Linked DNA regions of Homo sapiens: all the other regions are linked to region 5. Evidence: promoter capture Hi-C in human tissues and cell types (Jung and others, 2019). All regions are on one chromosome and are shown on one strand. Each heading gives the region's core, a stretch centred on a gene start or on the middle of the fragment in contact. The rest is flanking DNA. Distances are from core to core; before and after follow the strand shown.

What was found. Contacts are between HindIII fragments. The study calls those that stand out against the background at their distance.
Region 1: a contact is called between a fragment that was not itself captured here and the fragment with the promoter of GTF2F1 in region 5, in 1 of the 25 tissues and cell types used here (dorsolateral prefrontal cortex).
Region 2: a fragment that was not itself captured here is called in contact with the fragment with the promoter of GTF2F1 in region 5 in 2 of the 25 tissues and cell types used here (dorsolateral prefrontal cortex and spleen).
Region 3: a contact is called between a fragment that was not itself captured here and the fragment with the promoter of GTF2F1 in region 5, in 1 of the 25 tissues and cell types used here (dorsolateral prefrontal cortex).
Region 4: a fragment that was not itself captured here is called in contact with the fragment with the promoter of GTF2F1 in region 5 in 1 of the 25 tissues and cell types used here (dorsolateral prefrontal cortex).
Region 6: the fragment with the promoter of TNFSF14 here is called in contact with the fragment with the promoter of GTF2F1 in region 5 in 1 of the 25 tissues and cell types used here (adrenal gland).
Region 7: a fragment that was not itself captured here is called in contact with the fragment with the promoter of GTF2F1 in region 5 in 2 of the 25 tissues and cell types used here (aorta and lymphoblastoid cells).

The regions. Positions count from the first base shown.
Region 1 is chr19:6,049,193-6,053,091 of GRCh38, reverse strand. All of the region lies in intron 1 of RFX2 (regulatory factor X2), which reads left to right. Among named protein-coding and RNA genes, the nearest start is that of RFX2-AS1, 11 kb to the left of the region's middle. The HindIII fragment of the contact is 9,272 bases long and covers 1-3,899 here.
Region 2 is chr19:5,967,076-5,970,940 of GRCh38, reverse strand. The region is part of intron 1 of RANBP3 (RAN binding protein 3); the gene reads left to right. Among named protein-coding and RNA genes, the nearest start is that of RANBP3, 9.1 kb to the left of the region's middle. RefSeq lists an enhancer at 2,669-2,963. The HindIII fragment of the contact is 6,212 bases long and covers 1-3,865 here.
Region 3 is chr19:6,067,997-6,071,491 of GRCh38, reverse strand. The region is part of intron 1 of RFX2 (regulatory factor X2); the gene reads left to right. The region is part of intron 1 of RFX2-AS1 (RFX2 antisense RNA 1); the gene reads right to left. Among named protein-coding and RNA genes, the nearest start is that of RFX2-AS1, 7.1 kb to the right of the region's middle. The HindIII fragment of the contact is 5,534 bases long and covers 1-3,495 here.
Region 4 is chr19:6,086,844-6,090,380 of GRCh38, reverse strand. All of the region lies in intron 1 of RFX2 (regulatory factor X2), which reads left to right. Among named protein-coding and RNA genes, the nearest start is that of RFX2, 22 kb to the left of the region's middle. RefSeq lists enhancers at 2,600-3,099, 3,109-3,178, 3,100-3,537. The HindIII fragment of the contact is 3,299 bases long and covers 634-3,537 here.
Region 5 is chr19:6,391,463-6,394,974 of GRCh38, reverse strand. It overlaps GTF2F1 (general transcription factor IIF subunit 1), which reads left to right and starts at 1,811. Exons shown (of 13, transcript NM_002096.3): 1 at 1,811-1,991; 2 at 2,072-2,118; 3 at 3,001-3,073. The coding sequence starts at 1,980. It overlaps MIR6790 (microRNA 6790), which reads left to right and starts at 1,992; the gene lies at 1,992-2,054. It also overlaps the pseudogene LOC390877. The HindIII fragment of the contact is 23,950 bases long and covers 1-3,512 here.
Region 6 is chr19:6,668,620-6,672,202 of GRCh38, reverse strand. It overlaps TNFSF14 (TNF superfamily member 14), which reads left to right and starts at 2,043. Exons shown (of 4, transcript NM_001376887.1): 1 at 2,043-2,352. The coding sequence starts at 2,134. RefSeq lists a silencer at 914-1,013 and enhancers at 1,584-1,813, 2,194-2,283, 3,184-3,373, 3,434-3,523. The HindIII fragment of the contact is 26,746 bases long and covers 1-3,583 here.
Region 7 is chr19:6,114,297-6,118,123 of GRCh38, reverse strand. No RefSeq gene overlaps it. Among named protein-coding and RNA genes, the nearest start is that of RFX2, 5.7 kb to the right of the region's middle. The HindIII fragment of the contact is 3,250 bases long and covers 718-3,827 here.

The sequences.
Region 1 (3,899 bases), core at 802-3,301, 340 kb after region 5:
CATTAATTTTGTTCTTTATTGTTTTTCCTTCTTTCTATTAAGTTTAGTTTGTTTGTCTTTCTATATAGCTTTTTAAGGTTGAAAACGTTCTTAAATCTTTCTAACATAAGCATATAAAGCTAAACATCTCTTTCTAAGCACTGCTTTAGGTGTGCCCACTTTTTTTTCTTAATAATTTTACTTCTTTTTTTCACCCACAATATTTGTACCAGTGCCCACAAATTTTGATACAAAGTGTTTACATTATAATTCAGTTCAAAATATTTTCTATTTTTCTTTGGGGTTTATTATTTGACCCATGGATTATTTTGAAGGTGTATTTTAAGTTTTCTAAATATTTGGCATTTTTCTAACCTTCTTACTGATTTCTAATTTACTCCACTGTGGTCAAAGTGCATACATGCTCTGTATAATTATGGTATTTTGAAATGTATTGAGGCTTATTTTATGGCCCAGAACATGACCCATCACAGTGAATATTCCATGTGCATTTGAAAAGAATGTGCAGGTTTTGATTGTAGTGTTCTCTAAATGTCAATTACATCAATGTGGTTGATAATATAATTCAGATATTCTGTATCCTTAGTAATATTTCTGCTTAGTTCTTCTAATTTTGATTCAGTAATCAAAATTACTGAATGAAGGATGTTTAAAATCTCCGATTATGATTGTTTATTTCCTCCTTTAGTTTTGTTAATTTTTACTTTACGTATCTTGAAGCTGTATTACTAGGTACATACATATCTGTAATCAATATGTCATACTGATAAATTGATCATCTTATGATGAAATTTTATCTGCAGTAATATTCCTTGTCTTGTCAATGTCTCTAGTATTGCTAGTAATATTTCTCATCTCAGAGTCTATTTTGTCTGATTATTACAGCCGCTCCAGCTTTCTTAAGATCAGAGTTTGCAGGCTGAGTGTGGCGCTCACACCTGTAATCCCAGCACTTTGGGAGGCCGAGGTGGGTGGATCAAGAGGTCAGGAGATGGAGACCATCCTGGCTAACAAGGTGAAACCCCGTCTCTACTAAAAATACAAATATTAGCCTGGTGTGATGGCGGGCACCTGTAGTCCCAGCTACTCGGGAGGCTGAGGCAGGAGAATGGCGTGAACCTGGGAGGTGGAGCTTGCAGTGAGCTGAGACTGTGGCACTGCACTCCAGCCTGGGCAACAGAGCGAGACTCCATCTCAAAAAAATAAATAAATAAAAATAAAAGATCAGAGTTTGCACAGTGGATCTCTTTTTATTCTATTACTTTCAACCTATGTGTGCCTTTATTTTTAAGGAGGGTTTCTTTTAGGGACCATATAATGGGATCTTGATTGTTATCCAGGCTGATCATTTCTGCCTTTTCATTCAAGAATTTAGTCTATTTACACTTAATATATTATTAATATGTCTAGATTTAGCAAAGCAATTCTGCCATTTGCTTTCTATTTGTGCCATCTGTTTGTTTGTTTGTTTCTCTGTTCTTTATTTCTTGCCTTTATTTAGATAATCAAATATGTTAAGTAGGATTTCATTTGATTTCTCTATTAGCTTTTTAGCTATACCTTTTTGTATATATATTTTTTTGGTTAGTGGATGCTTCAGAGGTTACAATGTGCATTGTTAATTTATCACAATTTATAGAGTTAACATGTTACTACTTTAGGTAAAATAAAAGAACCTTGAATGTATAACTTAATTTGTCCCCATCCTCTGTGTTACAACTGTCATGGAGAACATCTACATATGATATAAACCCCACAATGGAGTGTTATAAAGTTTTTGTTAAATAGTTTTATGTATTTAAAATAAATTAAGAGAAGAAAAGGAAAAATATAAAATATATAAAAATACGGTTTTTTATAATTACCTGCGTATTTATCATTTTAAGTGATATTTACTCCTAATAGATCCAAATTTACCATCTGGTATTAATTCCTTTCATTCTGAAGAACTTCCATTAGCATTTCTCATGGTAGGCAGAAAATTTTATCAGGTTTTGTTTATGCAAAAAATGTCTTTATTCCACCTTCAGTTTTTAAGAATAGTTTTGCTGGAGATAGAATTCTGGGCTGATAGGGTTTTCCCCCCCAGCATATTAAAAATGTCACTCCATTGTCTTCTGGTTGCCATTGTTATTGATGAGAAGCCAGTCATCATCTGTGCCCTTGTTCTCCGAATATAATATGTAGTTTTTCTCTGACTGCTTCTTTTAACAGTTTAACCATGACATACCTATCTTGGCTTTCTTTGTATTCTTTTTAGGGTTTGTTGAGATTTTTGGACCTCTAAGTTGATATCCATCACCCAATGTAGAGGTGTTTGGCCATTTTTCAATATTTTTTTCTCTTACATTCTCTTTTTCTCTTCTGGGACTCTCGTTACATATATATTAGACAGTTTGTTCTATTCATGTTTCTTCATATATTTTCTCTTCATTCTTCAGATTGGGTAAATGCTTTTTATCTATTGTTAAGTTCACTAACTCTTTCCATTATCTTTAACCAGCTGTTGAGTGCATCCAGTTAAGTTTTTGTTTCAGTTATTGCTCTAGAATTTCTATTTGGTTCTCCTTTTATACTTTGTTTCTTGATTGAGATTCCCATATGTTCATTCATTATGTATATAACTTCCTTTAAGTTCTTGAAGTTATTTTTAGTAGCTGCTTTAGTCCTTGAATGCTATCTGTATCATCTGGGTTATCTTGCGTTTGGTTATAATTAACTGCTTTTCTTTTTTCTTTTTATTTGTTACTCTTTCTTTTGAGTGTATGTTACACTTTCCTGTTTCTTTTCATAGCTCATGGTTTTTACTGGGTCCTGGACATCATTAATGATGTATTGTAGAATCTGTAGGTTCATCTGAGTTCCCCTGAAGGCAAGTGACTTGGCTAGATTCAAACTCTCCCTCCTGCAACAGGCAGCAGCTGAAATCTTCACTTAATTTTTTTATCTTTGCACTGCTGGTTTTTCCCCAAGACCCCTGGTATCTCCCCCACACCTTTGTGGTGTAGTTGCTTAGCCAAAGATTCAGGTGTATTTTGTAGGAAGATTTGAGGGCTCACCCCTTCTGTGGCTCTCTCTCTTCCAGAATCTCCACACCCCAGCATTCAGAACTCTGTCCTCTGACCCTTCAGGATAACGAGGCTGATGCTTTCTGGCACCCAAGCATTTGTGGACTGGGGCATGCCCACAGGCAAAAAGCCACAGACTCATTGGTCTGACCTATAAGACAACACATGGTAAATAGTGTGTTAAATTAGGGGAACAGGCTGGGCACGGTGGCTTATGCCTGTAATCCCAGCACTTTGGGAGGCTGAGGCAGGCAGATCACATGAGGCCAGGAGTTTGAGACCAGCCTGACCAACATGGTGAAGCCCCGTTTCTATAAAAATACAAAAATTAGCCAGGCATGATGGTGGGTGCCTGTAATCTCGTCTATTCAGGGGACTGAGGTGGGAGAATCACTTGAACCCAGGAGGCAGAGCCAAGATCATGCCATTGCACTCCAGCCTGGGTGACAGAGCAAGACTTCGTCTCAAAAAACAATAATAATAATTAATAAAAATAAATTAGGGGAACACATTCATGTGTAAATGCCTGTGATGTGGAACAACTTGCTTTCTGGAAGGTGCATTCTGGCCATGGTGGACAGACCACGGTCTCGCCATTTATCCCCAACACTCTCATGGCCTCTTCTTACTTAAATAAGGTCTGGAGTTTGGAGCAAAATTATTTCCACCTGCGGAACAAGGAACTGGTCTTAGTCAAGTCAGCATTCTGACTTTATCACTGGTGGACTCCTTTCACAAAGAGTTCTAGTCAAATTATCTCCTAGTATCACTGATGCTACCCGCTTGGCTTCAGACGGGAACAGCATGGTGGATGGTGTGCAAATGACTGAT
Region 2 (3,865 bases), core at 1,158-3,657, 420 kb after region 5:
CAACTTGTGGCATGGTTGGAAGCACCTGGATTGGCTGTCCTTGGTTTGTGTCTTGCCTTCTGCCCTAGAAACATGGGCAAGTTGTCTGACCTTAGCTCTTGCATCTGTAAAATGGGAACGATGATACGCAAGTCTGAGGATTGTGGTGTGAGAGAGAATATACTTCTGGTAATTGACCTACTGGAATGTGGAGATACATGTCAGTTACTTCTAGCTGTGATTCTCCTAATTGGATGCCTGAGTAGAGAGAAAGCACCCTGTGAGTTATACCAGGGTTTTTCCACCTCAGTATTCTTGACATTGGGGCTGGTGGTGGCCATCTTGTGCTTTGGAGGATGTTGGGTAGCCCCTCTAGCCTCTACTCATGTGATGCCATAGCACCCAGTCATCCCACCCATCCACTCCCAGTCATGAGAAGATAAAAGGTCTCCAGACACTGTCCAGTGTCCCCTTAATGTCAGAATTGCCCCCACTTGAGAACCATTGGGTTATGGGATTTCATTGACACCCAAGAGACTTTGTGTTCCATAGTTATCTAACCTACTGAGGTCGTAGGAGCCTGTACACATTTAAAGCCACAGTCTGAGTGGGGAGGGAGAGAGGCGGTGAATCCCAGAAGCCAGGGTGGGGGGTCACCCTGGTTTGTGCCATCTAATCTATTGGGGATTTATTTTGGTGTATAATGTGAGTTAGAGATCCAGCTCAATTTTTTTGCCCAAGATTAATGCAAGGTTTCTTGCCCTCAGCTCAGTTGACATTTGGACTTGGGTCACTTGCTGGTAGGGCACTGTTCTGAGCCTCCTAGGATGTTGGTCAGCATCCCTGGTCTCCATCCACTAGATGTCTGTAACAGTTTCCTCCACACCCCCACAAACATGACAGTCACAATGTCTCCAGATTTTGACCAGTGTCTCCAGGGAGATGAAGTTACTCCTGGGTGAGAACCACTGGTCATAGGATCAAAGGAACCTACCCAGGAATAAATTAATTGCCAGCTAGAGTTTAAGGCCCTTCCTCCCAACCTTATTTTTCTATTCTGGCCTTTTGGCAGCTGAGTAGGCCTCAATGGACATCATATCCCTCTTCAGGAAGAACAGTCTTTTCCTTGACCTTTAACACTGCCTCTGGTCCAGGGTGAGGACCTGACAGAATGTAAGGGCTGGGAAGAACCTTCAGGGATGCCTGAGTCCTGGCTGCACCATTTCACAGGGGCTGAAGCCCGAGGCCATGGAAGCAGGTAGGGCTGGCTAGGGCCAGTGCGCCTGTCTCCAGCCATGGAGTCTAGGAGTTCATGCTTGTCCTTCCCGGTGAGTCAGTAAACTCTAGGTAATGGGCACTCGTTCACCCCTGAAAACTGACCCGCGTAGGGCACTGCATTTCGCTGTCGCTGTTTATGGTGTTCAAAGAAAGGGAGGAAATTCTAGAGACAGTAGTAGTTACTCCATACACATGTTTAGAAGGCAGGCCTTGCCTTTTGCAGTAAGTTTAAAATGCCTTTGCTAAATTAAACTCCCCCAGGTTTGCCACAGAGAATTTTGGGAACTTATTTACCCAGAATTAATTCCTGCGTTGCATCTGTGAGAGCAGAGCGTGAGTGGAAACGGTCCTTGAGAACTTGCCTTTCTCTGGGGGAGAGGGTGAGAAAACAGGCAGTTACCCTCTGCTCAGAGGAGAGAGGATGTTTTGCAGCATTGATGGTGATGGCCACTGGGTCCTAAGAGTCCAGAGCCTGGGCCCCAACCTTTACACTGGATAAATCCAGATTTGTCAGCATGGCCTGCAAGGCTGAACGTCCTGTGGGCTCCACCCAGCCCTTCCCGTTCTCCTCCCCTCCAAACATGGGCCTCCAGGCTCTTCCTTTCCTTAGAACCTTTGACTTGGGGTCCCCTCTGCCTGGGATCCCCTGCCTTCACCTGGCTCATCCCTGCTCACCCTTCATGTGTGAGCTTCAGCGAGGCCTTACCCATTCACTCACTCTCTCCCACCATCCTGTGGTATTTTCTCTGCAGCACCCAGCTCCAGAACTACCCAGTTATCTCTGCACACAGCAGGTACTTGTTTGTTTTCTCTTTCCCAGTAGAGAGCTGCGGCCTTGTCTGCCATTTCTTTCCTGTCTCCAGTGGCAAGCTCGGTGCCTAGCACAAGTCTGTGCTTGGTAGATCCTGCTGGTGAGAGCAAGGCTTGGCTGCTCGGCTCGGCCTGCCTTCAGATCCCACCTGTTTCCTGTGACCTCAGAAGGGCTCAGGCATTCCGAGCACCTGAGCGTTTGCCTTGAGTGTCCCAGGCGTCCAGGCAGCTCTTGGATCCAACCATTCCACCCCCTAAAAGGGGTCAGACTCTGACGCATTTGTCGTTGCCGGGCACTGGCAGCTGTCCTTGAATCCAAGGCCTATGCTTTAAGGTGGCATCAATATGTTTGCAATCTTCCGAGCATAATAATGCTACCAGTGCCAGTGTGGAATCATCCTGTGTGCCAACCACTTCCCCAAACACGGCATGTGCAGCATTTCATTTCATCCTTGCCGAAGCTGCCTGGGGTGAAATAACAGCCCTGATATGCAAATGAAGACATTGTGCCAGAGGTACATTGTCTTATCTGGGATCCCAACCGCAAGTAAGTGGCCAGGGCAGGTTTGAACACACACAAAGACCAGAGCCCGCGCTCTCCAGTATCATCAGTTTTGCTCTGCTGCCTCAGCATAAATTCTGTAGTTCTTGGATTTCCTTCCTGTAAGCTTCCGTGTAGAGAGGAGGGGATTCCTGTTGTCTCTACTGGAACTTTCCCGAGTCTTCAGCCACTTGCATGTTGCCTCAGCTGTGTTGGTGTCACACCACCTAGTGGCGGAACAGAAAAGTGCCGTTAAAGCTGGATCCTCCATCTCTCCACGCAGTTTTTTCTTTTTTCTTTCTTTTCTTTTTTTTTGGAGACAGAGTCTCACTCTGTCGCCCAGGCTGGAGTGCAGTGGTGCTATCTCAGCTCACTGCAACCTCCACCTCCTGGGTTCAAGTGATGCTTGGGTCTCAGCCTCCCGAGTAGCTGGGATTACATATCCCACCAGGCCCAGCTAATTTTTGTATTTTGGGTAGAGACACGATTTCACCATGTTGCCCAGGCTGGTCTCAAACTCCTTTCCTCAAGTGATCCACATGCCTCGGCCTCCCAACGTGCTGGGATTACAGGCATGAGCCACTGAACCCAGCCATCCATACAGTTGTAGGCAGAGTTGCTGACTTTGTATAACTTTATGGGGTTTCTGTTCAGAAGTGCAAGTTCTGCCCCCCGGGGCTTACGGTCTGGGTGGCGCAGGAGTGGAAGCTTAGAAGGGTTTGGCTGCAGGGCTGATAAAGGTAGAAATAAAGAAGGCAGAATGTGGCTTGGCCCTCATGGGGTGGAGTGGGATATGAGGAGGATGTCATGGGGATGCGTCTATGATGAATGAGACTAGATATGTAAAGTACCTACCTCGGAGTCCAGTAAAGGCCTTTTAACAAATGCCTGTTGCCCCTGCAATGCTTGTTGGAAGTGTAAGTATCTGGTGGTGAGATGAGAGTGGTTGGAAGTTGGCTTGGAGTTCGGTAGTTGAAGGTAATGCCAAGATGATGAGCATTCCAGAAAGAAGTACATAAAATGTAGGATATCATCAGCTCCAAAAAGTGTGTCCCCATAATCTCCATGAGACCAGTTGAAAGTTATAGAAATATATTCGAGTATTGAGAAAAGAACGGAGTCATCCAGGGTCCCACCGCCTTCCACTAGCTGGGCTGGAGAACCCGAGCATGCTATACACGGAGATCCGCAGAGGCATCACCTAGCAACTGCATGTTTGAGATCAGTTCCATTCCGTACCAAAGAATCAGTTGGAGG
Region 3 (3,495 bases), core at 252-2,751, 320 kb after region 5:
TTCTTCAGAGATCCCTGGGTCTTGCTGAGGGGATCTCTGACTTGGCTTGATTTTCTGTCCCGGGCCAATTGAGATATGTCTGTGCCTCAAAGATAGACGATCACTTAAAAGTACCGACAGGATCTTTCCCTCCCAAAGACAGGCGAGACCTCCTCCCGTCAGGCTGAGTCCATTCCTTGTCTGGAGCCAGGGAGCTCTGCTTCCCAAACTCTCACAGCAAGATTCCTGGCCTCACTCATTTGTCTTGCATTAAATTTCCTTGCAATCTTGCATAATTCGAGCATGACTTAGCAAGAAATGCATTTTTAATATGTGACTCTAACACTTTCTTATTTAAGGATGCATGTTTGTACGTTGACATAGCAAGAAAAATAGGTATATTAAAACTCATTTCTAATAATACTCGAGTGTGGAAAGATTAGCCATTTGGCAAATTTGAAAAGAGGTATGGAGTAACCATAAGGAAAGCAGTGAGGGCCAGGCACGGGGGCTCACGCCTGCAGTCCCACACTTTGGGAGGCTGAGGTGGGAAGACTGCTTGAGGCCAAGAGTTCAGGACCAGCCTGGACAACATAGTAGGACCTTGCTACTACAATTTGTTTGTTTGTTTGTTTTAAGTAGCCAGGCGTGGTGGTGTGCACCTGTAGTCCTAGCTACATGGGAGGCTAAGGCAGGACAATCACTGGGCTGAGGGCCCAGGAGTTTGAGGCTGCAGTGAGCTATGATCCAACCACTGTACTCCAGCCTGGGTGACAGAGCAAGACCCTGTGTCTAGAAAAGAAAAAGAAAGCAGTGAAAAAGGCAAATCATGTGCATAAACCTGAGGAGTGGGGCTTCTGTCAGGCATTGAGGTGGGACCATGGGGTGGGGGCAAGTATTGGTCACATGGAGCCCATATGTGACTATGAACCCAGGGTCTGCTGGAGGCTCTGATGTGAGGTCTGTGGACCTAGGTCATCATACTTTATACCCAGGCCCTATCGTGTGGCTTCAAGCCCGTCCACCCTGCTGAGAGTGGAGGCCCCCAGCAGCCAGCTATTGAGGCTGGCGAGGAGTAAACACAGGGATTCCATGGATGAAGAATGGGACTGGGGACCAGGACCCCCCTCCAGAAGGACTATGACTTGGTGTCACCTTCCAGGGTGGACACTCTGTCTTCTCTCCTGTACTGGTGGATGCATATCCATGCACCTAGCCCTGGCCAAGCCCACCTGTGTTCTGCAGGACATCCCATTCCATCCCATCCACATCCCATCCCATCCCATCCCATCCCATCCCATCCCATCCCATCCACATCCCATCCCATCCCATCCCATCCCATTCACATCCCATCCCATCCACATCCCATCCCATCCCATCCACATCCCATCCCATCCCATCCCATCCCATCCCATCCACATCCCATCCCATCCCATCCACATCCCATCCCATCCCATCCCATCCCATCCCATCCCATCCTATCCACATCCCATCCCATCCCATCCACATCCCATCCCATCCCATCCATGAAAGAACATCCACTTGCAAGTCTCCCTTCTTTCTCCTATCCCAGTTCCCTCCTGGTAGGTCCTACCTGCTATTATTTCTTTCATTTTCAGAAACCCGCTCTCAGTTTCCTCTTCCAGCTGCCTCCCCATTCCTCTTCCTATCTTTCTAGCAAAAATTCCTCAAAAGAGCCATCTGGTCCTCCTGTCTCCAGTTCTGCTCCACTTGGGGCTCTCTTGAACCTGCTCCAACCTCTGTGGCTTTTGCACACACTTTTCCCCTGGAGCTCCTCTGTCACAATCACTGGTGACCTCCACTTTGCTGATTCCAGTGATCACCACTCAGCCCCAGAGTCACTTGGTTCTCAGGACACCACTTGCTTATACTTCTTTGGCCTCTTTTCAGGCTCCTGCTTCTTTGGGATCTCTAAATGGTAGACAGCCCCAGAACTCAGCCCTAGGCCTCTTCTCTCTGCTCTTCCTTGGTGAGCCCAGATAGTCTTATGGTTTTAACTAGGTCATTTATACACTGATGACTCCAGCCTACATCCTGTATACACTGGTGGCTCTAGCTCATGTTCTCTATACACTGATGGCTCCAGCCATGTCATCTATACACTGATGGCCCCATCCCATGTTCTCTATACACTGATGGCTTCAGCCCACATCCTCTAGACACTGGTGGCTCTAGGTCATGTCCCCTACACACTGATGGTTCCAGCTATGTTATCTATACATTGATGGCTCTAGTTCATATATTCTATACACTGATGGCTCCAGCCTGCATTCTCTATACACTGATGGCTCCAGCTCACCCCTCAGCCTGAGACTTATGTAATCTGCCTGCTTTCTCAGCATCTCAACCTGGGTGTCTAGGAGCCTCTCACACTTTACACCTTCAGAACTCAACTCCCAAGTGCTCTCCAGGCCTTTTTCTTGGGTAATTTTCCTGACCTCATCCTTTTAGTTGCCAAAAACCTTGGAGGTACCCTTGACCCGTCAGCAGATCTGGCTGACTCTACCTCCTATGTTTATCCAGAGTCTGACGGCTTTGCCCCTCCATGGCTCACAGCCAGGCCCCCCTCCCTTGCCCAGATTATCACATTAGCCTCCAGATTGCTCTCTCTGCTCCCACCCTTTTCCTTCTTCCCCTATTCTCAACCCAGCAGCCAGAGGGGCCTGGTTAAAATGCAAGTCAAACCAGGCCATTCCTGGGCTCAAACCTTGTGATGGCTTCCATTTACCCCAAGCAAAAGCCAGAGCCCCTACAATGGCCTGTGTGGGCCTTTCTCCTTGCCTTCTGGTTCACTCAGCTCCAGTTTCAAGCCAGGCATTGTCCCACCTCGGGGCCTTTGTACTGGCTTTTCCCTCCATTAGGAACGCTCTTCCCCAGGATATCTGGACAGCTCCGTCCCACACCTTCCTCATCTCTTTAATGAGCCCACCCAGGGAAGCATTTGACAACGCTTTAAAAATTGCAACCCCTTCCTATCCCAGCACTCCTTCTGTCTGCTTCCTTTTCCCCCTGGTACTTGTCACCATATGATATAGGGTGTCATCTGACGTACGACATATTTTTCTCACTTACCTTGTTTACTGTCCATATGCTCCTATCCTCCCGCATGGTCTAGAATAGAAACTCCATGAGGGCAGGGAATTGTGTTTTGATGACTGGTCAATGCCAGGCCCATGCTATGGATCCAATAAATATTTTATTGAAATCAATGAATGACACAGGATCTCTGTTACTCATCCTTCTGGACATGGGGTTTGGAGTCCTCACAGCCGCACCTCAATGCCTCCCTTGGGATGCAGCATCCAGGCAGAACCCAGCCGTGTCCCCTAAGCAAAGCCTCCCATGGCACCAGCTGCTGGTGATTTGACCTCCAGGACTAGCATTCAAGGTTGTCACCACATCACCACTTAGCCATACATTAACAGCCCAAGAGTCTGGCTTCAAATTCCTCATCTCCCTGCAACACAGATTCAAATTCTAACAGTATAGAATCTG
Region 4 (3,537 bases), core at 1,034-3,533, 310 kb after region 5:
TTTTTTTTTTGAGACAGAGTCTCACTATGTCACCCAGGCTGTAGTGCAATGGCGTGATCTTGGCTCACTGCAACCTCACCCGGCTGAGAAATTTGTATTCAAAGGTGTTATCTGGGCTGGCATGGTGGCTCATGCTTGTAATCTCAGCACTTTGGGAGGCTGATGCAGGAAGATCACTTGAGCTCAGTAGTTCAAGACCAGCCTGGGCAACATGGTGAAACCCTGTCTCTATGAAAAATTCAAAATGCAAAAATAGCCAGGTGTGGTGGTGTGGGCCTCTGGTCTCAACTACTCCAGAGGGTGAGGTGGGAGGACCTCTTGAGCCTGGGACGTTGAGGCTGCAGTGAGCGATGTACATGCCACTGTACTCCAGCCTGAGTGACAAAAGCGAGAACCTGTCTCAAAACAAACAAACAAACAATCCAAAGATGTTATCTTATACAAACAATCCAAAGATGTTATCTCATATAATAATTTTCTCTAATCCACAAGTTTCTGTTCCTCTGTGAAATGCCCAAAGACCCTGAATCATGAAGGTCCCCAGCACATGTAAGAGCTACACAGGGTGGTGGAGGGAAGGGAGGGTGACAGTTCATTCAGATGCTACAACAAAAATATTAGAGACTGGCTGGCTTCTAAACAACAGGAATGTGTTGCAGTCAGCTCTGGAGGCTGGGAAGTCCAAGATCAAGGCACTGGCAGATTCAGTGTCTGGGGAGGGCCTGCTTTCTGGTTCGGCTTCTGCCTTCTAGCTGTGTCCTCACGTGATGGAAGGGGCAGGGGAGGTCTCTGGGGCCTCTTTTGCAAGGACCCTAATCCCATTCCTGTGGGTGCCATGCTCATGACCTAATCATCTCCCAAAGGCCCCACCTCCAGATGCCGTCATATTGGGGGTTAGGTTTCAACATGTGAGTTTTGGGGGGACACAACATTCCAACCATAGCACAGGGTCAGAATCCAGAGGACATGAGGGCTGGCCTCCCCCTTCCCTGTGACATTGCTCCAGCTCCTGCCCGTGCACACTCCCTTTTCAGAGACTGCCCAAAACCCCACATCCTCCGCCACTGAGATGGAGACAGGACAGGAGTGTTGGTCTTCACCCCCAGAGTGTCCCTGACCTGCTGGACGCAGATTTCTAGCGTGGTTATTTGTCATTACATGGGCTATTTGATACCTGCCCTTTTATTTATTTGGAGTTATTTTAGGCTCTGTTTTAAAGACATGAGTCCAAACATCTGAGTCTAATACAGAGTGGGCAAACTAGCCCATGGGCTAAATCCAACTCACTGCCTGTTTTTGTACAGCCCATGAACTAAGAATGCTTTTTTCCTACATTTTTAAGTAGTTGGAAAAATCAAAAGAAGAATATTTTAGGACATACAAAATTATCTGAAATTCACATTTCAGTGTCCATAAATTGTGCTTGCTTCAGCAGCAAATATACTAAAACTGGAACCATAAATAAAGTTTTATTGGCACACAGCCACAGTCATTTCACCCTACAATGGATGGGGTTGAGTCATCTTGACAGCGAGCGCTTGACCTGCAAAACCTAAAATATTTACTATTCCACATTTTACAAAAAAAGCTTGCCACCCCCTGGTCTAACGCACATTACTTGGCTATATGTGACTAGTACTCATGTGTATATGAATGTGATGCTGATTTTGAGGTTTATAAAACCCCTTAGGCTCTTCAATGGTGTTTAACATATTTTTGCTTTCTCTAAGAGAGAGAGGAATAATATTTACTTTGTTATCTTCTCCAGTTTGTTGTAATTAAAGAAGAGTCTTTGGCTACATCCATCTTGCAGGATGAATTTCGTTGCCTTCTTATACCTATGAGAACTGTGCCTTTAAAAAAAAATGCTGGGCTGGCATGGTGACTCAAGCCTGGAATCCCAGCACTTTGGGAGGCTGAGGCGGGTGGATCACCTGAGGTCGAGAGTTCGAGACCAGTCTGACCAACAGGGAGAAACCCCATCTCTACTAAAAATACAGAATTAGCGGGGCATGGTGGCACATGCCTGTAATACTAGCCACTCAGGAGGCTGAGGCAGGAGAATCGCGGGAGGCGGAGGTTGCAGTGAGCCGAGATCACGCCACTGCTGTCCAGCCTGGGCAACAAAAGTGAAACTCCGTCTCAAAAAAAAAAAAAAAAAAAAAAAAAGCTGTAGTGCCCTGGCCCTTCTCTGTGGCATTCTTCTTTGTCTTTCAGGCCCTGGCCAGCCTGGGTTAGGCTTAGAGCAGCACTCTGGGCTGGGAAGGGCTCTGTGTTCAGGGGTCATTGCTTCCTCTTTGTTCTCGTCTCTGACTCACCAACATGCAGCTCTGGGTGACTGTCCCTTGAGGACTGTGGCTTCCTGGCGGGTTAAGCCAGTTCTGGAAGTGGGTGTGCAGCTTATGGCAGCCAGGAGTGGTTTCTGAAATTAATTACTGCTCTAGATGATGATGTAAGGAGTGAGACTCCTGGGGAGAAACTGCCCATGTGGAGAAACCCAGCACCTGTAACCCATCACCTTCGTATCAAAACACGCTGTCCACCTAAGAAGGGCGAATGTGCCATGGCTAATCAAGGAAAATAATTTCTGTTTAGCTGTCAAAAAAGCTATTTCCATGATATCAGCCCTTTGATTTGGAGCTGAAACCTCCAAATCAAAATAAATTCTGCAGCATCTGAATCTTTTGTTGTAGCTGGATTTTTTAGAGTGAAGGCATTGCTAGGAATTACTGACAGAGTCCAGGGAGGGGCTAGAATTGGAATCGGGCTTCTCTGAGGTGAGAAAGTTAGTGGGGACTCGCCTTAATGCCTGGCTGTGGAACTGATCAAGGTCACTGGCTAGATGTGGTAAATCAGATGGGCTTCCTTGGGTTGGATGGGTGGATGCTAGAAAAAACTGCACTTCTCTCTAAGTCCCTTTACTCGCCTCTGGCAGGCATCTCCCTCCTGGGCTTCCTCTGATCCTCGATCCTCAATTCCTGGGCTTGGTGGACTGTGGGTTAATTATCTCCTAAGTGTTCTTTGAAAGCAGAGCCAATTATCAGCACAGTCCCTTCCCAGGCTGTTTGAATTCCTAAATACAGGGCAGTGGGAGGGAGGAGTAGCCACCTGTGGACTGTGGCTCCCTGCTGGAGACGGGTGTGCGTCTCGCTTCGCCCCTGTGAAGGTTATGCCTGTCGCCCTGTCTATCATGAGTCTGTCTCTGCAGCTTGTGGCTTCTGACCCGCTGCGACCATCTGCCTGTGCTCAGTCCCCACCCAGGAAGTGAACTGATTCTGTCACTTTCTTCTAAAGACCACAGATCTGCCTGGTTTATACAACGAAGCTCGTCTGAATTGGAGTCCTCAAATTTGTGAATTTAAGTTTTAAAAGATTAAAAAAAAAAAGACATACTGCTGTAGCCCAGTGGTTTTTAATCTTTCATCAGTCTGGATCTCTTTCAAAATCTGCTCAACACTGGGAATTTCTCCTCAGAAGAACAGGCATGGAAGGGCAAAAATTACATGACAATCTACGTTAGTAGTAAACAGAAAAGGC
Region 5 (3,512 bases), core at 562-3,061:
CTCACTTCTCCCTTGCTGTTTCCTCTGCTTGGAAAATCCCTGCCTGCCCCAGTTCCTTCTGGCCACAACTTCCATCTGGCCTTCTCTAGCCTCCATCTAGAGCTTCCCCCCATCACTCCTTGTCTGAGACACCTATTTCCTCCACAGCAATGGCCACAGTCTGTCATGATCTTCTCTGTTTACTCGTTCTTTTTTTTTCCTTCTTTTCCTTCTTTTTTTTTTTTTTTTTTTTTTGAGACGGAGTTTCGCTCTTGTTGCCCAGACTGGAGGGCAATGGCGCGATCTCGGCTCACCACAACCTCTGCCTCCCAGGTTCAAGCGATTCTCCTGTCTCAGCCTCCCGAGTAGCTGGGATTACAGGCATGTGCTACCACGCCCGGCTAATCTTGTATTTTTAGTAGAGACGGGGTTTCTCCACGTTGGTCAGGCTGGTCTCGAACTCTCAACCTCAGGTGATCCGCCCGCCTCGGCCTCCCAAAGTGCTGGGATTACAGGCATGAGCCACCGTGCCCAGCCGTTTACTCGTTCTTGTCTCCCCCAAGCCAGACACTCCATGAGGGCAAGGACTATTTCTGCCTCCCTCATTCCTATATTCCTAGGGGTTGGCGGTTCCTGACATTTAGTGGTGGATGAGAAATAAATGAAAACAGACACATCGACGGTGTCTGTAGTTCATGGCCCAACTTTTGTGTCTTGCCCGCCTTCCCTTTGCTTAGCCAACTCCTATGCATCCCTCAGTGCCCAACTGAAACCTCCCCTCTTCTCTGAGCCCTCAGAGCCCCGCTGTGCTTCTCCTGCTCCTTCCTGGGTTGTAGATTCCCATGCTGTGACTCTGTCTCTTCCACGACACTGTAACCCTCGAGAGGACACTGTAATCCTCCGTGGGGAGCTGGTTTGACAGATTCACCTTGCGGGGCCCCGAACCCAGGAGGTGCTGGAGTATTTGCGAAGTGGAGCAATGAATGGTTGCGCCGTGAGCATGCGCAGTTGTGTTACTGCCATGATTCGGGGGATGTGTGCATGCCTGGAACGGGGTAGGGGATCCTGCATCTCCCTCCTGTTCTCGGCAGCTTCCTTCCCTTCCCCCCAGGAAGCCAGCCAGCCGCCCCCGCGACGTTACCCTTCTCCTGGGGCCTCAGAGCCCTGCCCATCTCGGGCAGCTTGGACTTGCAAAGACCCATCCGGCCAGCAGCTCTTGGGGTGGTCGCGCCCCGACCCCGCCCAGGCTCTGACCCCTCCTGGCTCGGCTCAACGTCACAAGGGTCCCCGCCCCGGTCATTTTGCGGGAATGACGGGGTCCACCCCTTCGGGGTAGGGGGAGGAAATGAACCCCAAACAGACCCATGGGGAGCCAAGCGGCGGTTCGACCCGACCCGAGTAGGCCTCGGTTGCTATGGTGACGCGGCCTTCTGGGCCCCCCAGGTCCAGAGCGGCAAGGCGCATGCGCAAAGTGCCTGGGAGCCCGCAAGGGGGATTCGTCTCCCTCTTCCCACCCAGGATGCCCCACGGTCCTTGGGTGCTGACGTCACGAGAGAGGGCGGTCCCCCATTTGATGAAGTTAACCGCGTTATATACAAGAGCGCCAGCGACAGAGGCCCGTTAGTTTATCTCAGACTCGGCCTAGGTTTGCTGAGTCTAAAAAGGGACCGCGGTGGACCTTTTGAGGTGACCATAGCCGCCGAGGAGCATAAGTGACTGCGCACTGAGGTGGCCACAGTCGCTAAGAAGGTTGCCATCGCGACGCGGCTGCTCGAGGGTTTCGCTTCCGGGTTAGGCGGCCGCAGAAGCGTAGACCGAGTAGCTTGAGCGCCTCTTCCGGTTACCTTTTCCCAGCGCCAGAGGCGCCTAGGGTTGGGGTCCTCGCTCAGGCACAGAGACCCGACACCGAGCGGCGGCTTCCCCGGGATCGAGGGACGCGCACGCCAGAGGAGACGAAAGGAACCCGGGTCGGACCAGATCGGAACCACTGACCATTGCCCATGGCGGCCCTAGTGAGTGTGGATTTGGCGGGGTTCGGGGGTTCCGACGGCGACCTCGGCGACCCCTCACTCACCGCTTCCTCTTTCCGCAGGGCCCTAGCAGCCAGAATGTCACTGAATACGTCGTTCGAGTTCCTAAGTAAGTCCCCAGCCCCATCTCCCACTCCTCTCCACCCCCCAAAAATGAAAACCTTCACGATCTTCTTAGCCAGCCATTTCTGGCCCTGTCTGTGGTTCTCCCTCCAGACCGGGAGAGACTTGGAGGGCAGGGCTGGGATTAAGCTGAGGCTTCTCTGGGGACAACACTGCTTTTTTGAACGAATGAATGAATGAGTGCATTAATACACGGTGATCCAGCCCCCTGGCCTAACCTTCGAGGAGTATATGGTCCCATGATGCCCAGGCCAGCTGTAAGGACATATTCCTCGTCCTGTTTCAAAGTGGTCAGGCTGTCTTTCCTTTCCAGGCCTTTGTACATCCTGTTCCTCTGCCATGAGTGCCTCCCCTCAACCCCTAAACTGTGACTCTGCTGGGTGAATTCTTGATGATTCTGCAAAACTCAACTCCAGTATCTTCCTCCTCCAGGAAATACTCCCTGCCTGTCCTCCCTCCTCCCCAAGGCTGAGTTCACAATAATCTCCACATCTTGGGTTCCCCCAAATCTTCGTCCCTCCATCTGCTCTTCTTCTGCCTGGGGTCAGGAGAGGATGGGTCTAGCTTCTCTGGCAGACTGGGAATCCTTGGAGTCTTCCGTATCCAGTGTTGCCAGGCAAAACAGGCTGAATGAAGCTGGGTGGGTTTGTTGAGTGAATTGAATTGAATTAATGATTCAATTGAATGGAATGATTGAATTGAATTAATGGTTCAATTGAATTGAGTGATTGAATTAAAGTAATGATTTGATTGAATTAACGATCCAGTTGGGTGGTTGATTGAATTAATGGTTCAATAGCATTGACTGATTAAATTAATGATTGAATTGCTGTATTGGATTGACACTACCTCTTCTCATCCACTCCAGGAATACAACCAAAAAATATAACATCATGGCTTTTAATGCAGCCGACAAAGTCAACTTTGCTACGTGGAATCAGGTAAGTCTCTGAGTCCTGGGGGTCAGGGGCTGGGGTGGTGAGAGAACTTGACCCTGACCTTGGTGGTTGTGATAGTTGCTTAACTGTCATAGTCACTAAGTCTTAATTTTCTCACTTTTCTCCAAGTGAAGAAAAGATAGATGACAAAGGGTTGGGTGCAGTAGTTCACACCTGTAATCCCAGCACTTTGGGAGGCTGAGGCAGGAAGCTTGCTTAAGGCCAGGAGTTTGAGACCAGCCTGGGCAATACAATAGCAAGACCCCAACTCTACAAAAAAATTAAAAAGTTAGTTGGGGCTGATAGCGTGGGTCTGTAGTCCTACATAGGAGGCTGAGGTAGGAGGATCGCTTGAGCCCAGGGGTTCAAGGCTGCAGTGAGCTATGATTGTACGACTGCACTCCAGCCTGGATAACAGAGCAAGACCCTGCCTCAAAAAAAA
Region 6 (3,583 bases), core at 794-3,293, 280 kb before region 5:
GGTTCCCAGCAGCAGGAAGAGGAAGTGCAAAGACCCAGGATATCTGTCTGGGGCAGAGTGAGCAAAAGCACGAGGGTCCAACCACAGAGGCCCCAGTGAAGGGCACTTCGTGTCTTAGCCTAAGCTCAGGGGCAAGCTGGCAGCAAACTGTATCTATAAAGGGCCACATAAGTGTTTTTGGCTTTCAGGGCCAAGAGGTAAAATCAAGGATATTACAAAGATACTTATGAAACAAGACAGAAGCCAAGTGCAGTGGCTCACGCCTGTAATTCTAGCATTTTGGGAGGCTGAGGTGGGCAGATCACCTGAGGTCAGGAGTTCGAGACCAGCCTGGCCAACATATAGACAACATATATGTTACAACATATATAATGGCCAACATATAATACAAAAATTAGCTATGCATGGTGGTGGGCGCCTGTAATCCCAGCTACTCAGGAGGCTGAGGCAGGAAAATTGCTTGAATCCGGGAGGCAGAGGTTGCAGTGAGCCAAAATGGCACCACTGCACTCCAGCCTGGGTGACAAAGTGAGACTCTGCCTCAAAAAAAAAAAGAAAGAAAAAGGCTGGGTGCGGTGGCTTATGCCTGTAATCCCAGCACTTTGGGAGGCCAAGGCAGGCGGATCACGAGGTCAGGAGATTGAGACCATCCTGGCTAACACGGTGAAACCCCGTCTCTACTAAAAATACAAAAAATTAGCTGGGTGCGGTGGTGGGCGCCTGTAGTCCCAGCTACTCAGGAGGCTGAGGCAGGAGAATGGCGTGAACCTGGGAGGCGGAGCTTGCAGTGAGCCGAGATCGCACCACTGCACTCCAGCCTGGGCGACAGAGCGAGACTCCGTCTCGAAAAAAAAAAAAATCCACGCTTGAATGCATGCACACTCATACATGGACCTCCCCACACACATGAACACACCCGTGCAAGTGCGCACACACACATACACGCACCAATGCACAGGCACACACACATGCACACACCTGCACACAGCACATATATGCACACCCACTTGCACATGTGATGCATGTTCACACATACACACACGTGCACATGCATGCATGTACATGGACCACATGCACATGCACACAGATGACCATACACATATGCATGCACCTGCCCACATATGCACGCACATTTACATGCCAGCACATGTATGATACACAGGCATGCGCCTGCACATGTGTACATGATACACACTTGCATGCACACAACTGAATACACACATTCACATGCACACACTGCACACATATATGCATGCAGACAAGCACACACACAGAGCACACATCCACTCCTTTATTCCACTCTTGTGTTTTTCACTGCACTTGTCACATCAAAACACAACAGAAGGCCGGGCATGGTGCGGCTCACGTTTGTAATCCCAGCACTTTGGGAGGCTGAGGTGGGTGGATCGCTTGAGGTCAGGAGTTCGAGACCAGCCTGACCGACATGGTGAAAACCCATCTCTACTAAAAATACAAAAAGCAGCCAGGCGTGGTGGCACGCGCCTGTAATCCCCGCTACTTGGGAGGCTGAGGCAGGAGAATTGCTTGAACCCAGGAGGTGGAGGTTGTAGTAAGCTGAGATCGCGCCACTGCACTCCAGCCTGGGCAACAGAGCGAGACTCCATCTCAAAAACAAAACAAATAAACGAACAAAAAAACCCACAACGTATTATTTTCTTGTTTACGAGGTTTCTTGTCTCTCTGGCTCCACCAGAAGAGGAGCAGGGACCCTTCTTGCTGTTGTTCATTGCTGCATCCCCCACACCGAGAGCAGAGCCTGGCATGGGCAGAAAGTCCTCAGTCGATATTTGGTGGCCCCAAGCGAATGAAGCATCCAAGAAGGGAAAGCTGGGGGCTCCCCACTGCACTTGCCACCTGAGTCACATTTTCAGAAGCCTCTGGAAAGTGTGAGAGTCTGTATGAGTGAGAGTGAGACAGGGCCAAGACCGGGGGCGGCGGGTACCGGAAGAAGAGGAGGGTGAGTGGGGGAAGGGGTGGGGCTGAACCCCAGCTCTAAAGGCGGCCCACGGGTGCCTGTCCGCAGCGTGCACAGCCCAGGAGTGTTGAGCAATTTCGGTTTCCTCTGAGGTTGAAGGACCCAGGCGTGTCAGCCCTGCTCCAGACACCTTGGGCATGGAGGAGAGTGTCGTACGGCCCTCAGTGTTTGTGGTGGATGGACAGACCGACATCCCATTCACGAGGCTGGGACGAAGCCACCGGAGACAGTCGTGCAGTGTGGCCCGGGTGGGTCTGGGTCTCTTGCTGTTGCTGATGGGGGCCGGGCTGGCCGTCCAAGGCTGGTTCCTCCTGCAGCTGCACTGGCGTCTAGGAGAGATGGTCACCCGCCTGCCTGTGAGTGGGACCGGGGGGCTGAGAGCAGGTGGAGGTGAGGGGGGCTCCCCTGTGTCATTGTGGGTCACTGTGTGTCTGTGTGTGTGTGTGTGTGTGTGTGTGTGTGTGTGTGTAGGACAGGGCACAGGCTGAGAGCAGCTGGCTTGACTGGTTGCTGCTCCCAGCCTTGGGCAAGTGAATTCACCTCTCTGAACCTCAGTGTCTTCATCTACAAAATAAGGGCAGTCTCTTCATAGGGGACGAAGTATGCTATGGCATGTGTAGTACCAGACGATGCCAGCTCCACCCGTCGGAACTGACACCCCAACACTGCCATGCACACCCCTGTGCACACACGCATGCATTTTCTCTGTACTTTTTTATTTTTGAGACGGAGTTTCACTCTCGTTGCCCAGGCTGGAGTGCAATGGCATGATCTCTGCTCACCGCAACCTCTGCCTCCCGGGTTCAAGTGATTCTCCTGCCTCAGCCTCCCGAGTAGCTGGGATTACAGGCATGCGCCACCACGCCTGGCCAATTTTGTATTTTTAGTAGAGATGGGGCTTCTCTATGTTTGTCAGGCTGGTCTCAAACTCCCGACCTCAGGAGATCCACCCGCCTCAGCCTCCCAAAGTGCTGGGATTACAGGTGTGAGCCACTGCGCCTGGCCTTCTCTGGTACTCTTATTACTGTTACTGCGATTGTCATTAATTCTCTGACCATTTCCATCTGTGGAAATTTCTCGGTCTGCTTCCAGCTGGCTGTGGATGTGTCCGCCTGTCTGTGTGCCTCACCTGGGGGTCTATGTGTGCCCAACACCATACCCCTGTGGGCTTGGCCCCTTTTGTGTCCTGGGTCTGGATCCGGTGGCCACACATTCGTGTCCATATACCCATGTGGACGTATGTGCGTGTACCCACATGTCCACACACCCGCCTAGCTGCAGCCGGTGTATTCACGTTGTCTGTCTTTGTCTCTGGGTCTCTGTGTCTGTAGACGCACATGGATCCATAAACCACAAACCACATGTCCACGCATCTGAGCCCACATGTGTCTTCTCAGCGTCATGATGATGTTGAGGTCTGTGCCCTGTGGCAGGTGCTATATCCCAAGGGTGGTGTCCATGTGTCCAGCCATCTCGCTGTCTGCATTTTTTTTTTTTTGAGACAAGGTTTCTCTCCCATAGCCCAGGCTGTAGTGTAGTGGTGCAGTCTTGGCTCACTACAACCCCACCTCCCAGGTTCAAGTGATT
Region 7 (3,827 bases), core at 1,093-3,592, 280 kb after region 5:
AGACTATTTGAGGTGACAGAGACCCATCCTTGGAATCATTTGATGCTGGGGTTTCAAATCGGTGATTCTGGGCATGCAAACACTCTGTTGTGCCCCTTGCCTTCAAAACAGCTCCATTTTCACCTGTTTAACTCCAAACCCAGGTCTCTAGACACCTAACCCTCCTCACTAGCCTTCCATGGGAACTGAAGCTTTACCACAGCTTTATTATGGGGTGATGTGAGGCAAAGAATTCATTTCACAGCCAAAAATTTGGGAATACACCTAGGTAATTTCCTTTTTCTTTCTTTTGTTCTTTCTTTCTTTCCTTCCTTCCTTCCTTCCTTTTTCTTTTCTTTCTTCCCTTCCTCCTCCCTCCCTCCTTCCCTTCCTTTCCCCCTCTCTTCCCTTCTTCCCCCTTTCTCTTTCTCTCTCTCTTTTTCTCTCTCCCTTCCTTTCTTTCCTCTTCCTTCCTTCCTTCCTTCCTTTCTTTTTTTTTCCTTCATTGACAGAGCCTCTGTTGCCCAGGCTAGAATACAGTAGTGAAATCACAGCTCACTGTAGCCTCATATTCATGAGCTCAGTCCTCCTGCCTCAGCCTCCCAAGTAGCTGGGACTACAGATGTGTGCAACCATGCCTGGCTAATATTTTAAATTTTTTTTTAGAAATGGAGGTCTCACTTTGTTGCCCAGGCTGGTCTCAAGCTCCTGGCCTCAAGTGATCCTCCCACTTTGGCCTCCCAAAGTGCTGGAATTACAGTCGTGAGCCACTGCGCCCGGCCTAGATCACATTTTGTTTATTTGTTCCTCCATGGATGGACACTGGAGTTGTGTGCATTTTCTGGCTTTATGAGCTAATGCTGCTAGGAATATTCATGTAGAAGTTTTTGTGAAGACCTAAGTTTTCACTTCCTGTGGGCAGACACCTAGGAGTGGAATTGCTGGATCCCATGGGAATTCCACTTTTTACATTTTGGGGAACTGCAACTTTGAGTTTTAGAAGTGGGAAAGTCCCAAGGAAACCAGGATGAGTTGGCCATCCTGAAAATGATTCCTCCTTGGTGTCACTTGCCCTTGGGCCTTAGGTAAGAGGAGCAAGGGAGTCAGGTGTTGCCTTGTGCACACCCCTTTCCCTCTACCACTGCCTGGTTATCCACTCCTGTGGCTTCTTCTGCTGCAGACTTCAGCTCTGCTATTTCCTCTCCAAGCTGTGCCCAACAAGGTCCTCCAACATGGTTCAAGTGGCTACTTTAAGGAGGCAAAGCTTTGTCTCTGGAATGAACTGGACCAGAGTCCACTAGGAGAAAATATCAGCCTTACCTCCATTCATTCAAGAATTAAGCTTCATCTGTCTCCTCGCTGTCTGCCCTGGGTGTCCTATGTCAACAGGAATGTGGCACTTCAGCAATTTCTCTTTTCTTTTCTTATTAAGAGACAGGGTCTCTCTCTGTCACCCAGGCTGGAGTACAGTGGCGTGATCATAGCTCACTGCAGCCTCCATCTCCTGGCCTCAAGCGATCCTCCTGCCTCAGCCCCCCAAGTAGCTGGGACCACAGGCACATGCCACCACGCCCTGCTAAGTTTTTAAAATTAATTTTTGTAGAGATGAGATCTCACTGTGTTGGCCAGGTTGGTCTCAAACTCCTGACCTCAGGTGATCCACCTGCCTCAGCCTCCCCAATTGCTGGGATTACAGGTGTGAGCCACTGTGCCTGGCCCTTAATGTATTTTCTAATTTCCCTCATGATTTCTTCTTTGAGATTGAAGAGTTTTACACATTTTGGTTAGTTAAGAAATATATAAATACTATAGTAAATATGCCACATTGCCATGAAAAAGGGCTGAAGTTTGCTTGAGGAAGTTGCTATTGAAGGATTGCAGCTTGTGAGTTATTGTGAAAAGGTAGAAAAGTCATCTGTAATCAGATGGAAAGTTGTAATGCTAGGCATAGATAAATGTGGCTCATAATTCACAGGAAGCTGAGGTGGCTGGTAGATATTTCAGATGTGTGCTTATGCATATTTTGTGCAGTCCTACACGATTTGGTCCAGACAGGTGCAGTTTTCTATTTACCTAGTGTTTCTTGCAGACAAAATTGTGCATAAGGAAGGCAAAATCCACATTGTGCTCAAATTGTTTCCTATTATATCCACCACTTTGGGACTAACTGACATTTCAAAGACAAGCATTCTAGCAGAACGGAGTGTACAAACCAGCTACAAGGCACCTCCTGTCACACCCTAAAACGTTATCCTTCACTCCCCACATCTAGTCCACTAGAGTGTTCTTCCAAATGTACCCTCAGTCCACCCACTCATGTCCGCCTCCACTACCAGGTCCCTAAACCAAGCCACCATACTTTCCCACCCAGGAGAACTGGGACAGACTCCTAGGATCTCTCTCTGTCCCTTTTGTCTCCTACAATCTATTCCCCATGAGGTGGCTCAACTGAGCTTTCATTTTTATTTTTATTTTCATTTCTGTTTTTTGAGATGGTGTCTCTCTCTGTTGCCCAGTCTGGGGTGCAGTGGTGCGATCTTGGCTCACTGCAACCTCTACCTCCCAGATTCAAGCTACTCTCCTGCCTCAGTCTCCAGAGTAGCTGGGACTACAGGTGCCTGCCATCATACCCAGCTCATTTTTGGGTTTTTAATAGAGACCGGGTTTCACCATGTTGGCCAGGCTGACCTCAAGTAATCCACCCCTCTAGGCCTCCCAAAGTGCTGGGATTACAGGCATGAGCCACTGGGCCTGGCCTCAACTGAGCTTTTAAAATTATAGTTTAGGCTATGCATGGTGGCTCATCCCTGTAGCCCCAGTACTCTGGGATGCCAAGGAAGGAGGATCACTTGACATCAGGAGATCAAGACCCTGTCTCTACAAAAAAAAAAAAAATTCTTGTATTTAGCCAGCCTTGGTGGCACATGCCTATAGTCCTAGCTACTTGGGTGGCTGAGGTGGGAGAATCCCTTGAACCCAAGAGTCTGAGGGTGCAGTGAGCTGTGATCGTGTCACTTCACTCCACCCTGGGCGATAGAGTAAGAGTCTTTTTTTTTTTTGAGACGGAGTCTCACTTTGTCGCCCAGGCTGGAGTGCAGTGGCACCGATCTCGGCTCACTGCAAGCTCCGCCTCCCGGGTTCACGCCATTCTCCTGCCTCAGCCTCCCGAGTATCTGGGACTACAGGCGCCCACCACCACACCCGGCTAATTTTTTGTATTTTTAGTAGAGACGGGGTTTCACCGTGTTAGCCAGGATGGTCTCGATCCCCTGACCTCGTGATCCGCCCACCTCGGCCTCCCAAAGTGCTGGGATGACAGGCGTGAGCCACCGCGCCCGGCAAGAGTCTCTTAAAAAAATAATTAATTGACAAAATAAAATAAAATCACAGATCGGGTGACATTCCACCCACTCCCCACCCCACCTGTCCCCGCACACACCCCTGCTTAAAACCCTCCATGGGGGCCGGGCAAGGTGGCTTACGCCTGTAATCCCAGCACTTTGGGAGGCCAAGGGGGCCGGATCACTTGAAGTCAAGAGTTTGAGACCAGCCTGACCAACATGGTGAAACCCCATGTCTACTAAAAATACAAAAATTAGCTGGGCATGGTGGCGTGCACCTGTAATCCCAGCTACTCGGGAGGCTGAGGCAAGAGAATCGCTTGAATCCAGGAGGCGAAGGTTGTAGTGAGGTGAGATCGTGCCACTGCACTCCAGCCTGGGTGACAGGCGACTCCATCATAAAAAAAAAAACAAATTAAAAAAGAAAATGCTTTGGAATTAGATATAGGTGGTGGTTGTACAACATAGTGAATGTACTAAATGCCACTGAACTGTTTCCTTTTAAAA